Linked DNA regions of Homo sapiens: region 2 is linked to region 1. The links are contacts of gene promoters, found by promoter capture Hi-C in blood cells and fetal thymus (Javierre and others, 2016). All regions are on one chromosome and are shown on one strand. The core of a region is centred on a gene start or on the middle of the fragment in contact, and the rest is flanking DNA. Distances in the headings are between cores, read along the strand shown.

Region 1 (2,914 bases), core at 121-2,620:
ATTTACTAGGATCTCTGAGGCATTTGTCAGGGATTCAAGGCTAAAACTAGGATAGTCCAGGGCAAACTGGGATATTTGGTCAACCAACAAGTAAAGTTTCATCTCCTGGTTAAATTAAGGCTGTGGTGAGAGGGGGCATTGTGTTGATTGTGTGGTTGTCCTGTCAGTCTTCAGTTTCTCTAAGCTGTTGCTATATCAAGTACATCTGCCTAATACTCCTTTCTTCCCCCTCAGGTAGCCTGCTAGGGTTGTAGGGGAGGTGTCTTACTTAAGGAAGGCTGGCTGAGCCACTGTATGGGTCATTACAGGACAGAAGAAGACCAGAGTGAATGCTGGTCTCTGTGTGTTTTTTTTTTTTTTTTTTTTTTTTTTTTTGCGTGTGTGTGTGTGTTGAACTAAAGAACTGGTAGGGGCAGTTGGGAGGGTGCTGGACTGCAGAGAGCCCTTTAGTGCTGCTCCAGTGGACGTGCACATCTGTGTTTCCACTGAGAGTTAATGGATATTGGATGGGGAAAGGTTTTCAGCTATGTGTTACTGTAGCCTATGACTATGTGGTATGAGCATTTTAATTTATTTGGTGTTTTGAAATACTTTTATGAGTTACTCTGACAACTTGTCAAGGATATTTTCCTGAGAGAAACAAATAAAAGACAAATCTCAAAAATAGTTTGCTATTAGGATTTTATTTGTTGAGATGTTGAAGATGTCTTTTCAACAGTGATACATGTTTTGGTTCTTTGCAAATTTACAAGGCACTCCCAAAATGTCATTTGTCCCTCATTCTTCTATTCTTGATATCATTCTATGATCCTGTACAGGATGAAAGCAACTGAGTTCTGAAGGTAGTAAGTAACATGCTGAGGTCAAATGCCAGGATTTGAGTCAGGTTCATGGGGCTCCATGTCCTGTGACCTCTCTGCTCCACCAGGCTGTGAAAGAATGACTCTTGCATTCATGCAGTCAGTCTGTGTTGCTGTAAACCTGAATGGTAAAATGACAAATGTAGACACAGAGGGTGTGAATCAGCTCTATTAGCAGTGACTCTGAGAATAGTCCTTTCCCTCCTCTGTCTTCCCCTTCTCTGTCTTGCAGCAAGTGGGAGGACGAAGCAGGTTTCATAAGAGCAGCGCCCAAGACCCACAGTCGCCTAGTGCCAAGTCAACAACCTTACTGATATCTGGATGTAGTTTCCTGTGCTCTTTGACACAGGTGTGGAGATTGTAATTTGCTGTGTGTGATTGTTTGCACTTCCTTGATTATGTAAACCAGTGGCTTTTGCCAAGAACTCTTCATGCCCTGAAGCTCTGAGCTGGTTCCCTCCCATTGGTGGACCTTATTTCATTTTATTGGGAGGCGTAACTTTCAGGTCACAGAGCAGTGATAACTACCTGCCAGTGTCTCTTAGGAGTGAGGTACCTGGAGTTCGGGGACCCCAACCTGTGACAATGACAGCAGACAAATTGGTTTTCTTTGTGAATGGCAGAAAGGTAAGTAGGAGCTGACCTTTGGTTTTGTGTCCCTTCTCCCTGGGAGGGGAAATGTGTCCTCTGGCAGAGCCATATCTTGTTCTCTGTCTTTCCTGTCCCCTCTTACTTGTTCTGTCTTTCTCTCTCTCGCTTTAAAGGTGTCGCTGCATTTTGGTAACATTAGGGAAGAAGACCTTCTCGGGGCTAGAGCACAGACAAGATACTCAGAGGCCAAAGAATGAGGGAGAGAGAGGCAAGCAGAGAGGCATCTGTGAGCTAGCTGCCAACTCTCTGCAGTAGTGGAGATTGGCACAGAATGAGAAAGGGGAGTTGAGTTCTAGGTGAGATTTGAGGTCATCACCACACTTCTATTTCTGTCTTTAATCAAATATATCCTAAAATTTACGTTGCTCTCTTTACAGAGAGAAGGAACAGGAATGTGTTTTCCTGCTTTTATCAGGATATAAGATGTACGCAGCCTTTGATTCTAATATATTATATATATAGGTTTAACAGCCAGTCCTGATTCACTGTGAGGTGACATATACTGACACCTTGTGGCAAACCACAATTTTTTTTTCATAAAGGGCATCTCCTGCATTCCCCCCACTCCCCACCCACACACAGTGAGTTCTACATGTAAGCTGCAAATCTGTTACCTACTTGAATTTACCTTATTGGTACACAGGGACTTAGGGAAGGTGACATGGGTACCAGCCCTTGGACAAGAGTGAGAATCTTTGCAAATTTTAATGTGGTGCAGAGAGAGAGGGGGCAAGCATATTACATGGTCACTAGCCTCCATTTGCCCTCCTACAACACTGCTGAGATGCTCATACCTGTTCAACTTCCCACTTAGGAATGAAAAGGATAGTAAAAGAGTCCCATAGTTGCACATTGTAACTTACTGTGTGGACTGTGCGTGATGAATGTGCCCAAAGTGTCCCCCAAAGAAGGGCAATTTTATTTGTCTTTCTATATTGGCATTTTTGCATTGAGTTGAGAAACTTTTGATGTAATTTTGAGTGACTTTTGGTATAATTTTCAAGAACAATAATGTGCTTCACTGGACTCCTAGGTCTTAAATTTCCAGGATGTGTTTGGGTGACTGTAAAAGAAATTTCATGAACTGTTTCAACGTCAGTGCTCCAAAGATTGATGGACTCTCTTTGAGTGGTGCCTTTGGGAAGTGCTGGGGAATGGGGACAGCCATGTTCTTCTGGGTTCAGAGTTTCCTCTCTGAGCTGCATCCTTTTCAGGGTTGGCACCTGGTACCAACCCAAGAAGTAGGGCAAAGCTTTCAAGTGTAAGATTTTGCATCCAGCATTTCAAACAACTTCTTTCCTTCAGCAATTACATTGTAGAAATCTAGGAAACCATTGTGCAATTGGCTTTCTAGGAGAGCTACTTACACAAAGCCATCTCTGGAATTTTTATTAGTAATTTTT
Region 2 (2,761 bases), core at 174-2,673, 670 kb after region 1:
CCTTCTAATTATAGGAGGCATGCTGCCCACACACCTCTGCATGCCCACTGCCTCCCCATGCACCCACACATGCATGCACACTCGCCCATACCCAGAGCCACGGGACACTGCTGACCCTCTGGAGAAGAACTGATTCCATCATTGCTTTTGCCATAAGGGCCCAAGCAAGTCAGGCTCCCAAACCTGCTGAGGCTATTGTTAATGTCAGCAGAATCGCGTTGGAGATGCCACCCTCCCATACCCCTGGGGCAGTGGCCTATCTCCTGTTTTACCTTGGAGCCCAGCCCTGTCCCTACCCCTGAAAAGAAACTTTCCCCTTTCCCGTTTTCCCTGCAAGGCATAGCTCATAAATAATCATTTCCTGCTGCATAACCATTCGAAATGGAATCCCTATGCTTGACTATAGTGGGGAAAATTTGTTTAGCAAGGGGTTTTCATTATATAATATGTATGTGACATCTGGTAATAGGAACTGCATTATATTTATTGTTTTATCTCTAAGAAAACATTGAAATAAAAGGAAAATGATCAGGGCCCATTATTCTCCAATGAGAAGGAATCTCGGGGCTTCACTGGAGAGATGAAACAGAGAAAGTGAAAAGAATTCAATTCTGTAATGGTATAGCAGTCCAAAGTATTCTGCTAAACATTCAGGAGAGAAGGGGCTTTAGGGGCCCCAGAAGAAAATCAGTGTCAAAATGATGTCACTAGTTTCCATGGAAGTTTTCTCTCTATATAAGCAGGGAGAGAAAACTCAGAAACTCAGGATGCTGTTAGACCCAATGAGATGAAACTGTGTGTGGTATTTCCTTGCATCCATTGTGTCCAGGGTCTAGATGAAATGACAGGCTAAACACTACTGCTTTTTGAGACTTCAGCTGAGCACTGTCTCCATTTATAGAGCCTGTAATGTTATCTTGGTGAATGGAGACGGTCTAGAAGGTGGTGGGTCTTTCTTGGTGACTGGGGTCCATGCACAGAGGAGGCTTTCTCACAATCATTGTGTTTCCTCTAATTCCAGCGGTTCCGGGAGAAATTTCCACCCGTGTTTTTTTCCTCGTTCAGAAACACTGTCCAAAGCTCAAATAATAAATTCCGCCGCAACTTCACCATGACTTACCATCTGAGCCCTGGGAACTATGTTGTGGTTGCACAGACACGGAGAAAATCAGCGGAGTTCTTGCTCCGAATCTTCCTGAAAATGCCAGACAGTGACAGGTACAGAACCCTCTGGGATTGTAAATGTTTTATTCTACTTAACTTTATAAAAACACATTGTGTAATTATGGGCAGTTCTCTGTGCATTCGTGCAGCCTGTGCTATGTCACTGGGGACATGATATTGGCCCCACTCTAGAGCAGCTCACCATAAAGGGGGAGCGAGAAAGTCTATGAACCAAGAACCAGACCACAAACAGGATGGGTCCATTGCCAGATGGAAATGCAAAGTGGCACGGGAGGACTGAGTGGCAAGAGGGACTGAGGAAGGCTTCTTGAGGGAAATGACACGTGAGCTGGGCTTTGAAGAAAAACATAATTTAATAGTTTAAAAGGGAAGGCGATGGTAGCCATGGGAAGGTAGGTAGAAGAAAAAAGCATGAATGGCGGGAGGGAAGTGGCTGTGCACAGGGCTGCTTGGAGAGTAAGTAGCATCGGCATCCATACAGGAAGGTGGCATTTGGCCAGCATATCACATGGCCTGAAATGTGGGGTATAGCAGGGAGACAGTGAAAGATGGGCCTGAAAGAAAGAGTCCATCATGGAGGGTCTTCCATGCCAACTTGATCATTCAAGACTGGGACCAGCAAGTGCTCACCCCACTGGGCCCCTTGTCTCCTCTTGGGCCCAAGACAGACATTGCCATCATTATGGCAGTCTTTGCAGCTGAGCATTGGTGAGACCTTCTAAGTCCAGCATGCCAGGCCGCCATCATACCACCAATCAGAGATGGAACCTAAGGCAGAGCCTATCTGCCATACTGACAATGGGGGTTGCTGGAAGTGTGTATCGGGTTGTGGAAGGAACCATTTACTAAACAGTTAAAGACCAGACCATTTCCAGCCAAAAGGCTGGGCTGGTGGCCACGGTGCTGTAGCTGCTCACTTCGTGTCCTGCGGTGCTGAGGGTGCCCCATTCAGGAACTTGGCATCAATATCCAGTGCCACCTGGGTGCCCTCTATATGCAGGCCCCCTTTGAGTGGTGAGCTGGTCATCTTTGTCACACTGTCCTCTGATTTTCTAGGCACCTGAGCAGCCATTTCAACCTCAGAATGAAGGTAGGTATGCAGCAAGGTTTGGCTGGCGAGCCTCATTGGCCCCATCCCATCCCCAAGAGCTTCCGTCTCCTTCTTTACACCTCCCGCTGCCCCCAACCAATGAAAAGAGAGACACCATGATAGGCCGATGAAGGCTCAAAGGGGCGGGGTAGGGGGAGAAGACCAGGCCTCCAAGGCCAGGCTCAACCCAGCCCTCTTCCTTCCACAAACTTCAGTTTTCTCATTCCCCAGAAGGCTTTTTCCAACTGCCCAATAAAGACTCTTTCTCAGATCTTGGCAGGGGTTGTTGCACCCTTGCTGTACCAGATGGGTGGCCTCCTTCCCCAGAAGTCTAACATTGACTATTTTCCCTTTGATCCAGGGAAGCCCTTCAGAACATGGCTCCCAACAAAGCATTTTCAACAGATATGCTCAGCAGGTATGGTACCTAGCACCCAGGGGCCTTACGTGGGATTGGAGAAAGGGGACCTGAGGGAGGGACAGCTC

Evidence for each region. Contacts are between HindIII fragments. The CHiCAGO score rates a contact against its expected background, and 5 or more counts as called.
Region 2: a fragment that was not itself captured here is called in contact with the fragment with the promoter of XDH in region 1 in 1 of 17 cell types (total B cells); the score reaches 5.5 in total B cells.

Annotation. Positions count from the first base shown.
Region 1 is chr2:31,413,198-31,416,111 of GRCh38, reverse strand. XDH (xanthine dehydrogenase) reads left to right here and starts at 1,370. Exons shown (of 36, transcript NM_000379.4): 1 at 1,370-1,487. The coding sequence starts at 1,446. The HindIII fragment of the contact is 5,234 bases long and covers 1-2,765 here.
Region 2 is chr2:30,741,840-30,744,600 of GRCh38, reverse strand. CAPN13 (calpain 13) reads left to right here. Exons shown (of 23, transcript NM_144575.3): 13 at 1,022-1,218; 14 at 2,242-2,275; 15 at 2,637-2,693. Among named protein-coding and RNA genes, the nearest start is that of CAPN13, 64 kb to the left of the region's middle. The HindIII fragment of the contact is 4,692 bases long and covers 1-2,761 here.